Regions from separate parts of the Homo sapiens genome. Here region 2 is linked to region 1. The links are contacts of gene promoters, found by promoter capture Hi-C in blood cells and fetal thymus (Javierre and others, 2016). All regions are on one chromosome and are shown on one strand. The core of a region is centred on a gene start or on the middle of the fragment in contact, and the rest is flanking DNA. Distances in the headings are between cores, read along the strand shown. Region 1 holds the start of TBXT (T-box transcription factor T). Region 2 overlaps RPS6KA2 (ribosomal protein S6 kinase A2).

Region 1 (5,976 bases), core at 1,912-4,411:
ACAAATAAAAAGCAATACAGTATAACTACTATTTGCATAGTGTTACATTGTATTAGGTATTATAAGTAATCCAGAAGTGATTTATAGTTCATGGAGGAAGTCCATAGGTTATATGCAAATACCATGCCAAGGGACTAGGGCATCCCTGGATTCTGCCATCTTTGTAGGTCCTGGAACCAATCCCCCACAGATACTGTGGGTGACTGTTTTACATATATATGAAGACAGATACATATATAATATTTCTACAAGGAGTACATATATAATCAGAAAAGAAATTCATTTGTTTTTCTTGCAGAAAGAGAGGGACTAGAGTGTGGGGTAAGAGTCACGCGAGGCTGTCCTCCACCCCTCCTTGAGCCTGTTACAGCTTCATTGTTGCCTGCTTCTAAAGATAAATGGCTTTGCTTTTTCAGAAGGGATTGGGCCCAGGAAAACTGCCTCTCTGGGAGTCGAGTGGGGTGTGTGTGTGTGTTTTCTTATAAAATGTTTCAAGCATGTTTTCGGTGGGACAGTTGCATCCTGAGGCCCAGCCATAAGGCTTTGTCTTGTTTTTCTCTGAATGGCTGGGCTTGCCAAGGAGAGATAGACCCTGGGAGCGAAACAGCTGGCGGTGCCTCAGCCCCTCTTTCCTCCCAAGGAAGCGCATTGTTATTAACTGGGAATTCTTTATAGCCGGGCTGGAGGAAGTTTTGGCTGTAAACTGTCATGCACTGCAGCCTTCGCTGAAAAGGCGGAGGGAGTGGGCCTGGTCCTGGGAACCGAGGAACAAAGATCAGAAAATCAGCCACAGAAAGGGGAGGAAAAATAAACGTTAGAAAGTGAAGACAGGTGACACTACACAAGTGCTGGCCAAAGTCGGTGACTTCCAACCTCTACCTCCTCCGACTTGGGTGGTTCAATTCCTGGGTCGTACTCTTCAATGCTTCAGACATTCTCTCTGGAGAGTAGAAATTTTATTACGCGTGTTAGAAACGGAATATTCTTTCCTGCTGAAGTTGTATTCTTATTTGGCCGTGCCCCTCCTGTTCGGAACAGTTTTAGAGCGATCTGTTAAACCCTCCAGTCTTCTTTGGCGCTTCCCGACTGTGGGAAAAGCGGCCGCGACGCCGTCCGAGCGCAGGGGAGGGATCCAGCCTTCGGGACTCCTTTGCCCTGAAGCCGCAGGAGAGGTTTCGCTCCCGTGCCTAGGGTTCCGAGGCCCTCAATTGCCTGGGACCCACCCTCGTTCCTCCTTCACCTCCCCTCCACTTTTCCCTTTTATCTTATCCTCGGGAGGCCTTGGGCCAAAGCGATGACCTCTTAGACATTTTAATACCCGGAGTAAGGAGAGTAACACGCACCACGCTCTCCCCCAAAGCCCAGGACCCGATGAGCCAGTGAAGGCGTGTCAGGAGGGTCCGGCGTCAGGAGCAAATGAGGTCCTTTTGGTGCCTCTTTCTAGAAGGAAACTTCCCCACCTCGGGTCAGCCCCCTGGGAATATCCATGCATCCCAGACATCAAAAGACACTGAGAAATGCGGACAGGGACTAGACGCTCCGGCTTCCTGACTCGTCGGTGTAAGTTGGAGAAGGGAGAGAAGGAGCCCTGTCCCCCACGGGCGGCAGGCACCCTTCCCCGGGACTGGCTCCTGGCAGCCCTCCGCATACCGCGAGGCGGGTCGATCCCTCGAGTCCCGGGCGGGGATCCCTCCTTCGGCTTCCCCAGCAATTCCCGACCCCGGAGCGAGCCCGGCTGGGCGAGGGGCGAGGGGCAGGGGGCAGGGGGCAGGGGAGACTTAGCGCGGGGCGCAGATACCATGTCCGCGGGAAAGCCCCCTTGCTAGGGCGCAAGACTCCTCTGAACTCGCTGCCCCACCCGATGCGCAGGCTTTCTCTAGAGGGGTTGGGGCTGGGGTGCCCGCTCAGGAGACCGGGAAACAGAGGCTGCTACCCGAGGCAGGCCCTCGTCCAGCGAATGGGCGAGGTGTGCAGAAGCGCAAAGCCAGGCCTTGGAAGGGGGAGCTTCTGCCTCCTTCCCCCTTCCTGGGCTCCCGTTTTAGGAGGAATGTTACTGTTTAAAGAGACCCCACTGAACTATTTCCTGCTCATTGTCACCTCTCCTTCGCTCTCCTCGCGTAAGTTCTCACCGAAAGGTAATAAAACAACCGCTGCCGACACCGCTTGGCGCTGGGCCGGGCGGGGAAAGCGCCCCGAGTCCCACTAGTCCGGACCACCCCGCCAGCCCCGACCTTCTCCCACCTTCCGTGAAAGCAATGACACAGCAGAAACCACGCACACGCCTGGCACACTCGATGCGCGCGCTGACCTCGGCAACAAGTCCTGTTTTTATAAGAGAGCGAGGAGGACACTTCTCAGAAGGGGTTGTTTTGCTTTTGCTTATTTCCGTCCATTTCCCTCTCTGCGCGCGGACCTTCCTTTTCCAGATGGTGAGAGCCGCGGGGACACCCGACGCCGGGGCAGGCTGATCCACGATCCTGGGTGTGCGTAACGCCGCCTGGGGCTCCGTGGGCGAGGGACGTGTGGGGACAGGTGCACCGGAAACTGCCAGACTGGAGAGTTGAGGCATCGGAGGCGCGAGAACAGCACTACTACTGCGGCGAGACGAGCGCGGCGCATCCCAAAGCCCGGCCAAATGCGCTCGTCCCTGGGAGGGGAGGGAGGCGCGCCTGGAGCGGGGACAGGTGAGGCCGCGCGAACGTTCCAGCCTGGCGCGGCTGCGGGATCCGGGCGCGCTGGGAAAGCGAGGAGGACCCCGCGCGGGAATCAGGGAGCATCGCAGGCTGCCGGGCAGCCCCTCGCGGAAGTGCGGGCTGGGGCGGGCTGGGGCGGGCTGGGGCAGGCCGGGGCGTCCAGCTTACCTTCCTCCGGGGCTTGCCCCGCCGCTTTGATGGAGGTGCAAACATTTGGAGAAGGGCGGGGGTGTAGGGGCTGGGCCGGGGCTCGCAGGGCTGGGGCCCCGGATTTACATGAAACAGGCGTGCGGGAGCCCATTGTTGGCCCCCGGCCTCCCAGACCCGCCCGGCTGGGTCTGATATGGCCGCTCTCGGCCAATGGGAGGCTGCCCGGCACTTCAAAGCGTGCGCGGCCCAATCCGCCGAGCACCCCAGCGCTGCCGCCGCGGCTCTATTTATGGGGAGGGCACTGAATTTCGGTCCCCAGAGACCTACACTAGTAGAGCCTTGGGGAGTTCAAGTGGAATAACTTCTCCCCACCCCTCTGCCCCCGTCCCCTCCCCCCAAGTCTTGGTCCGCGCCCTCCTCCCGGGTCTGTGCCGGGACCCGGGACCCGGGAGCCGTCGCAGGTCTCGGTCCAAGGGGCCCCTTTTCTCGGAAGGGCGGCGGCCAAGAGCAGGGAAGGTGGATCTCAGGTAGCGAGTCTGGGCTTCGGGGACGGCGGGGAGGGGAGCCGGACGGGAGGATGAGCTCCCCTGGCACCGAGAGCGCGGGAAAGAGCCTGCAGTACCGAGTGGACCACCTGCTGAGCGCCGTGGAGAATGAGCTGCAGGCGGGCAGCGAGAAGGGCGACCCCACAGAGCGCGAACTGCGCGTGGGCCTGGAGGAGAGCGAGCTGTGGCTGCGCTTCAAGGAGCTCACCAATGAGATGATCGTGACCAAGAACGGCAGGTGGGTGCGCGTCCGGAGCCCGCGCGCGCCGCGCTCTCCAGCGCCTGGGCAGCCTGGGGGACCTGGCAAGTTCCCGGAGGTCGAACCCTTTTTCTCCTGGAGGAGGGCTTTGTGTTTGTTCCCGCTCTGGTTAACTCCCTCGAGTGCATTTCTACAAGCCCCTCTTCTGGGGCTTTCTCCGCGGAAGCTTGGGGAGGAGGAACGCGCACTTCGGTGTCCCGACCTCGGAGGCATCCCGGGACCCGCGAGGCGCGCCCTGGTCCCCGCCTGTCCCCGCGGGATGTGGCCTCCTGCACTGAAACCCTTCGCCAGGTCCTCTCCTCCCCTCCCTCCCGAGGCCGTGGAGATGGTGAGGAGGCCACCTGGACCTGGCAGGGCTCGGGGAAGGGGGAGCTTGGGAGTCACCCTCGGACGTTCCCCAGGGGGCTCCTCTGTGCCCCGAAATAACTGAGGCCTCTGTGCCCAGCTTCTGCCTCCGGCCTACCTGGTCAGTGTCGGGGTCCTCCTGCGCCCGCCCCGTGTTTTCCAGGAGGATGTTTCCGGTGCTGAAGGTGAACGTGTCTGGCCTGGACCCCAACGCCATGTACTCCTTCCTGCTGGACTTCGTGGCGGCGGACAACCACCGCTGGAAGTACGTGAACGGGGAATGGGTGCCGGGGGGCAAGCCGGAGCCGCAGGCGCCCAGCTGCGTCTACATCCACCCCGACTCGCCCAACTTCGGGGCCCACTGGATGAAGGCTCCCGTCTCCTTCAGCAAAGTCAAGCTCACCAACAAGCTCAACGGAGGGGGCCAGGTAGGTGTGAGGAGCCCGCCAGGTCTGGGACCAGCGAGGAGGGGGCCGCGCTGCGCCTTCTGCACGGGGGTTGTGGGAAGGGACGCTGCTTGAACGGGAGGCGACGTCTGCCCTGGAGAAACTGCCACAGCCTTCTCTAATAAGGCCTTTAGCGCTGTTTATACTAAGCTGATAACATCCACGCCTGGCGAACGGGGAGCGGGAGCACTCCCCTTTGAAGGACTGGAGCTTTTGGGGAACTTCCGTTGTCTAGCCCTAAACTCTCCTGGGGGTGGAAAAGATATCAGCCTTGATGGCAAAGTCGCATTTAAATTTAAACATGCGCCACAGTACTTACTGCGTGGAGTCGGAACAAACTTGTAAAGTCGTGCTTTTCTAAAGAACATTCTTTAGTCGGGGATTGTTCCTGGAAGACCCCAGGTTAGGCAAGTTGCAAACAAGCTCAGTCTTTTAAAAATGACCATAGCCTTCCTGAAAGCCTTAGTACTTTATTCCACCAGGTGAAAGGATTTTGTGATGAGCATTCATTGCTTTTAATGGTGTGTAGCATCTCACATCCCTTTTCCAAACAAGCTGTGGGAATAGCACATATAAACCGCGGAGAAGCCTCCCCTGGTGGAACCCCACTTCCCTCAACAGCAGAGACACTTTCTTGGGATCCAGAGGACTTTCTGCATCCTGGAGAAATGGATGTTTTGCTGTTTTAACGCAGGCCTTTCAGTGCCACCAATCCTGTATCTGTCTCCCTCAGATCATGCTGAACTCCTTGCATAAGTATGAGCCTCGAATCCACATAGTGAGAGTTGGGGGTCCACAGCGCATGATCACCAGCCACTGCTTCCCTGAGACCCAGTTCATAGCGGTGACTGCTTATCAGAACGAGGAGGTGAGAAGGACAGAGGCGGATCGCTTTCCCGGTGTGCTGCGGTGTGGTGTGCTGCTCCGTGGAGATTCTGGAGGAGCGGGGAGACGCGCTAACCCGCACTGAGAGGAAGGCTTCCTGCCCTTTCAAATAATATTCCGGAACTTGAAATGGAAGCACAGGAGAGAACTGTTTAAATTAAGTCCCCATTCAAACATTTTCCCCTTGAATTCTCCATACAAGTGTTTAAAACTAGAAACAACTTCTCAATGCTCAAAATGAAAAGATCCAAAAAGCATTCAGGTTAAATGGTGTGAGAATTTCTTGAGAACAAGACTTGAGTGAGAGAGGGGCATGTCCTTCCTTGGAAATCTTCCCCAAAGGGTGGGGGGGCAACCCCTCAAATCTCTGCAGTGTGAAGACTCAACTAGATACAAGCTACTGCATAGGTGCCTGTAAATCTATGCCTAAGCCCAACCCCAAAGTACTGCAAATTCGACATTAGTTGGATACCTTGTTGGTGTTGACGTTGACCGAAAACTAGAACTTCCAGGTCTCTATTTCCTAAGCAGCCCCAGACTGTGTTTTCAGCCATTTCTGATTTATACACATGGAACATTGTTAGTAGTAGGTTAAATTTATTGTGAATCCCACTCAGAACATTGACATTGAAAATTTTTCATAAGCATGCTAC
Region 2 (5,976 bases), core at 2,486-4,985, 250 kb before region 1:
CTAGTCTCGATGGTCTTTACATTTTGGCATTATTTTGCAGTGGCTGGTACCTGTTGTTCCTTTCCATGTTTAGTGCTTCCTTCAGGAGCCCTAAAAGAGCTCAAATTTTAAAATTTTTTAAATTTTAAAAAGAATAATAATTTTTAAAGAAGACAAAGAAAAAGGACTGTGTTTCTAAGGCAGCAGACTGTGGGAAGCTAAGTCTATGGGAAACTAACAGAAGATGAGGGCTAGTTAGGAACATTTGTTATAGAGATTATTCTGGAAGCTTCTCCAGGCTGTAAGCATCTAGAGGAGTTTCCCTTCCATCCTTCCAGGCAGAGAGGACAGGAGGGACACCTTTACCCATTTATATCCTCCTTTTAGGTAAAGAAGGGGAGGGCAGAGAGCTTTGCTTATATCTGCATCTTTTCAGTTGTTTTCAGCTCCAAATAATCCTTATGCCAAAGCAGCATATTTTGGGGTGGCTGACTCTGCTACCCTTTGAGGGTCTAAAATCATTTTTACCAACTTTAGCCAAAAAAATACTTTGGCCTTAATCAAAAGAAATTAAGAATTTTCGTTACTTGCAACGGGTAAAGAATTCATTAACCGGAGCGCAGGGACGCTGAGGCAGGGATGACGGTGATGCCTGAGGTTCACGTGGGCCTCACCGTGATCCAGGCTGCACTTCAAGCTCTTCATTCACTGACTCCCTAACCCTAGATCACACCCACTGTGCAGGCGAGGGGCACAGGAGTTTGAGTATCTTGGCCAAGGTCACACATGAGTAGGTGGCCAGTGGGGTTGGACTCCCACTCTCTGGTTCCAGGCAGTGCTCTTGGTCCCAGCCCTGGCCTCACAGGGAGGCAGCTGCACCGTATCACATGTTTCCTCTGTGCGCCATCTCTTCCCAGTGTTTCTCCTGAAGCAGGAAATACTGTCTTAGCCAGCTGTGTGCGTAGTCCTGAGTTTTCAGAATGCAGTCATCTCCAAACGGGAATATTCTTCCAGGACCACACACTGGGGTCTTTTCTGTGTGGTCACCCAGTCTTGAGCATTAAGCACTTACTTCCAGGTTTTCCCAGTACAGTCAAACTCAGGGGAAGCCCTTTGGATGATGTTTTCTGCAGATCTGCTTGTATTTAATGAGGGGAGGTAATGGAAGTAAAGCCACAGTCTTTGATTGCCTTGCCATCAGGACCTCTGTAAACCAGGCCTGACTGCTGGAGTGTGTCCCTTTAATTCCCTTCTACATCCTCCCACTGGATTTCATTAGGACAATTGAGATGTTCAGGATCCAAGCTGTACAAAGGCACGCCACACGTCCTCACAATGGCCCTCTGTCCCCTCAGAACACATTGCTTTGTGCCCTAAATAGCTGCTTTGCTTTGAGGTGTGCTGGCCCCACCATCATTGCAGCCAGCGCAGTCCTCCATGGGAGGCCTCAGAGCATGATTGCAGAGTGACTGCATGATCGCGTGGCCCTGGTCCGTCTCCCCAACGAGTTGCTGCACCCAGGACAGCAGGTGCCTGATCTGTGCTGCTCACTGGTGCTGCTCCAACACCTCACAGTGCATGGGGGTGGGCACACAGGGAGTAGTTATTGAATGAATATCATCTTTAAAATGCTTTTCATTCCTATCTCCAGAGCTCACCACATTTCCTTTTATGTGACAGCTCCAGTAAGCTGCGGCCTCAACTTGGAGAGGTGCTCACTTATTTACTCAAATATTCATTCACTGTAAAAGCAGGTGACACCAGGAGCTCAGAAGTGAGTGACCACCACAGGAGAATGGGAGAAGGTGGGGGGCCCTCTGGAGAAGACAGCAGCTGTTGACACTGTTGGCCTGTTGCCTGCTTGCAGGACCTGCTAGGAAGACAGTTCCCAAATGCACCCTCCCCTCCAAATGCACCTGCCCTCCCTCTCCTGCTCAGTCCTCAGCCCCCAAGTAGGCACTGTGCCTTCTGTCTTGCAGGTTGTTCATCGAGACCTGAAGCCGAGTAACATCCTGTACAGGGATGAGTCGGGGAGCCCAGAATCCATCCGAGTCTGCGACTTCGGCTTTGCCAAGCAGCTGCGCGCGGGGAACGGGCTGCTCATGACACCCTGCTACACGGCCAATTTCGTGGCCCCGGAGGTGAGCATTCCCCGACTGCAGACCCAGGCCTCTCTATCCGCAAAGACAGGCTCTGCCCCCTCCCACTGCAGAGCCACCGGACAGCGGGGATGTCAGAGGCGGCTTGAGCTGCGTCAGCAGTGGTGTTGGGAAACAGAAACGAGAACCTTCAGTCTCTTGAGCCAGGGGCCAATCTTGCTTAAACGTAGTTGTTCTTATCATTCTCATTTTCCCATTTGAAAAAACTTTTCAACAGTAACATTTTTATGTAAAATTGTCTTCTGTAGACAATTTGGATGAAATCTGCATATTTATTCCAAGTTAGAGAGATGATGCAGTAGTCTCCTTATACAACCAGGACGCAGAGCTGCGGTTCACCTGGGATGGGAAATGGATCCGTCATAGCGCAGGGAGCAACTAAGTTTACGGATTTTCTCTGCACCCCAATTCTCACTCCAGATTGGTTCCCCGACAGCAGCAAGTCAGCAGCTGTCAGATTGAGAACCGCAGGGCTCCGGGGTGATTTGCCACTGAAAGCTTACGTTGTTCAGTGTCTGTGTCTGCTCCCAGCCCCGCTCGGAGCAGCTAGCAGGCACCTGGTGAACTTCTCTCTTTTCACATTTCCCGGGAACAAGTTCCATTAGGTTCTGAATTCAAGGATGTGTTTATAAATCTAAGCCCAATTTCTTGCCTTTGAGAAAAGCCAGTGGTAAAGAGAGGAAGGGAAGGGCTGTGGCTGATGTTGCCAATGGGACAGGGGAGGAGGGAACTGGGAAGGAAGGCGGACTTCAGAGTCTGTGTGGATCCCGTGGGTTCTTGATGGAACTGGACCAGAGCTGCTCCGATGGGAGGGGAGTCAAGCGAGCAGCCAGGTCTGAGGCGCCTGGCATCTCACTGTGGGTCTTGGAGTTGTTTAAGAGGTCACCCAGGGCCACTGGTCCATTGCAAAGATGCTTCTGCGTGCTGAGACGTGAACGGATGTGCAGCCAGGGGCTGGACTGAGAGGCTGTTTTAGGTTATGCAGGGGTCATCCAGACACTTGAGCAACCTGTGGCCCCTTTAAAAATAACCAAGTTTGGCTGGGTGCGGTGGCTCACGCCTGTAATCCCAGCACTTTGGGAGGCCGAGGCAGGTGGATCACCTGAGGTCAGGAGTTGGAGACCAGCCTGGCCAACATGGTGAAACCCCGTCTCTACTAAAAATACAAAAATTAGCCAGGTGTGGTGGTGTGTGCCCACAGTCCCAGCTACTCAGGAGGCTGAGGCAGGAGAATCGCTTGAACCCGGGAAGTGGAGGTTGCAGTGAGCCGAGATCACGCCACTGCACTCCAGCCTGGTTGAAAGAGCAGGACTCCGTCTCAAAAAATAAAAACTAAAAAAAATGAAAGTAACCAGGTTATAAGCCTCTGTTCATGCCTTACTTAATCAATATTAATATTGATAATATTATGGGGGAGGAAAATGACGTTTTCCTCATCCCTCATAAGTTCTTAGCTGGACCAGACCCCTGTAACAAAAGACAGATTAACAAGAGAAAAAGAAGTTTATTAACACACATCTTCTCATTTATGCATGCGAGATGCCCAGAGAAGGAGTCATCCTCACAGAGGTGGCTTTGAATCCAGCCTACATGGTATCTGCAACAAAGAACAGAGAATTTTTAGAGACCTGGCAAGACAAAGGAAGAGGGTTAGGGTCTCCAGGGGCTGCAGCTTGGGGAGGTGCAGGGCTGGCCTATGGAGGCTGGTCCCAGGTGGGACCACATGCATCCAAAGCTGTCCCTAGGGGAAGCCTTTGTCCTCTCTGGTTGGGGGTAGGTACCTTTTGTCTTAATCCATGTCCTGATTTTAGACAAATGGAGGACACAGAGCTCTCCTGCATCTGCTGCTTCTTATGTATCTTCAGCTCAGCGCCCCTCACGCCTATGCAGCATATTTTGGGGTGGCATATTCTGGTCTCCCACAATATTGATTTTATTGATTGTAGAATGCCCTAGGTTGTGATATTCCTTTGCCATTTACAAAGCACTTTTACCAACTTTTTTTACTTTCACTCTCATCCACCATACAAAGTAGGCAGGGTAAAATCTATTAACCATGTTTCACAGAGTCAGAAAGCACAAGCTCCATGTGTGTAAGTGACTTCTGAAGGTCACCCCGCTGATGGATTAGGAAGTGAGGCTTGCACCATGAGCACCACATTCATTCAGCATGCGCTGGCTGGTCCCCTCCATGGTGCAGGCTCACACATGGTAGCAGCGATACAGAGAAAAGGACAGGCTCCTTGCTCTCATCTCTAAGGAAATTGAGCCGAGCTCTCCCGACTCGATATTTAATGCTAAATCCAGTCATCTGCAGTAATCCATGAGCACCATTGTGGCTTCCTTTGTTGTTATTCAACTGTAACTATATCAGAGGATTGCCCTCTACTGAAGTATGTAATCCTAGGATGCATACAAGTTTTGCTGCTTTAACAGTTCTTCAAAAAAATTAAATGTTATCACGTAGCCCAGAATGGAACTTCTGGGTATATACCCAAAAGAATTGAAGGCAGGGACGCAAAGAGACATGTGTCCACCCATGTTCATAGCAGCACTATTCACAACAGCCAAAAGGTGGAAGCCACGAGAGTGTCCCTCGGTGGATGAATGGGTAAGCAAAACGTGGCATGCACACACAGCGGAACATTGTCCAGCCTGCAGAAGGAAGGAACTTCTGACCCCTGGAGGAAGCTTAGGGTGTTATACTAAGTGAAATGGGCCAGTCACAGAAAGACAAACATTGCATAATTCCACTCCTATGAGGTCCCTGGAGGAGTCAGATTCACACAGACGGACAGTAGAAGGGTAGGTGTTGGGGGCTGGGGGACAGGGAGTTGTTGTTTAATGGGGACAGAGTTTCAGTTTGGGAAGGTGAAATGCTCTGTGGATGGATGGTGGTGATGTTGGCACCACAATGTAAATGGGCTTAATGCTGCTAAACTGTGCACTTAAAAAGGGCTTTGATGGTCAATTTTATGTCATACATATTTTACCGTAACAGAAAAATCCTTCTGCCTTAAAAATTAAGGCCCTCCTTTTCAGCCTGTCTGTCATGTGTCTGGAAAGAGTACTAGTTTACCATGTGGCTGGCCTGGGAGGAGTCCCACTGCAGTACCTTAGGGTTGGCTTTGCCTTAAGAAACAGTGGTCACACCGAAGACATGGCACCGCCCTCCTCCTGGTCCCCAGCTTGCCGGCGTAGGATGCCGCTGGAGAAACGTGCTGTCAATCTGAATGTCCTTAGTGAAGGGCGTGCCGGTGTCCTGTCGTTCCCTCCTAGGTCCTGAAGCGTCAAGGCTATGATGCGGCGTGTGACATCTGGAGTTTGGGGATCCTGTTGTACACCATGCTGGCAGGGTAAGCAGTCACCTCAAACAGGTGTCAGGAGGAGACACAGGGCAGCAGCCTCAGTGGCTGATCTGTCAGGGGACCAGGGCCAGCCCTGTCCTAGTGTGCGCATGTGGGCAAACCCAACGTGTATGCAAACACTCCCAGGCCTTGAGTGAACACTCGCAGACTTTCTTAGCCCCTCAGGACAACTGAACAACAAGGACAAGAAATGTAGCCACCCATTTTCTTTAAACTCAGCTCATGAACAAAACATCAAGTCTTTTGCCAGCATAGTCCCCATTCTCTCTGCTGCACCTGCCACTGTTTTAAAAGGTAGCAACAGATGTGCCTTCCAGACATCCTCTTAAACCGAAAGCCCCATAGCAGCTTCAGGGTCAAACAGCATCTGTACCTGGGTTTCGTGGTCATGAGTCATGCACGGGCCGGTTCATTGTGGTAAGACACGTGGTGTTACAGAAAGTGGCCTGGGCCTGCCATCCAGACAGCTG

What was found. The method cuts DNA at HindIII sites, captures the fragments that hold promoters and counts their contacts. A CHiCAGO score of 5 or more calls a contact.
Region 2: a fragment that was not itself captured here is called in contact with the fragment with the promoter of TBXT in region 1 in 1 of 17 cell types (monocytes); the score reaches 5.7 in monocytes.

Annotation. Positions count from the first base shown.
Region 1 is chr6:166,165,036-166,171,011 of GRCh38, reverse strand. TBXT (T-box transcription factor T) reads left to right here and starts at 3,161. Exons shown (of 8, transcript NM_001366285.2): 1 at 3,161-3,626; 2 at 4,156-4,420; 3 at 5,172-5,306. The coding sequence starts at 3,421. It overlaps LNCDAT (lncRNA divergent activator of TBXT), which reads right to left and starts at 2,915. Exons shown (of 2, transcript NR_166068.1): 1 at 2,862-2,915; 2 at 1-940. RefSeq lists an enhancer at 2,425-3,019. The HindIII fragment of the contact is 11,647 bases long and covers 1-3,815 here.
Region 2 is chr6:166,419,400-166,425,375 of GRCh38, reverse strand. It overlaps RPS6KA2 (ribosomal protein S6 kinase A2), which reads left to right. Exons shown (of 21, transcript NM_021135.6): 17 at 1,959-2,120; 18 at 5,418-5,494. It overlaps LOC124901460 (a long non-coding RNA gene), which reads right to left. Exons shown (of 2, transcript XR_007059866.1): 2 at 3,623-3,735. Among named protein-coding and RNA genes, the nearest start is that of MPC1-DT, 39 kb to the right of the region's middle. RefSeq lists an enhancer at 5,785-5,854. The HindIII fragment of the contact is 2,193 bases long and covers 2,639-4,831 here.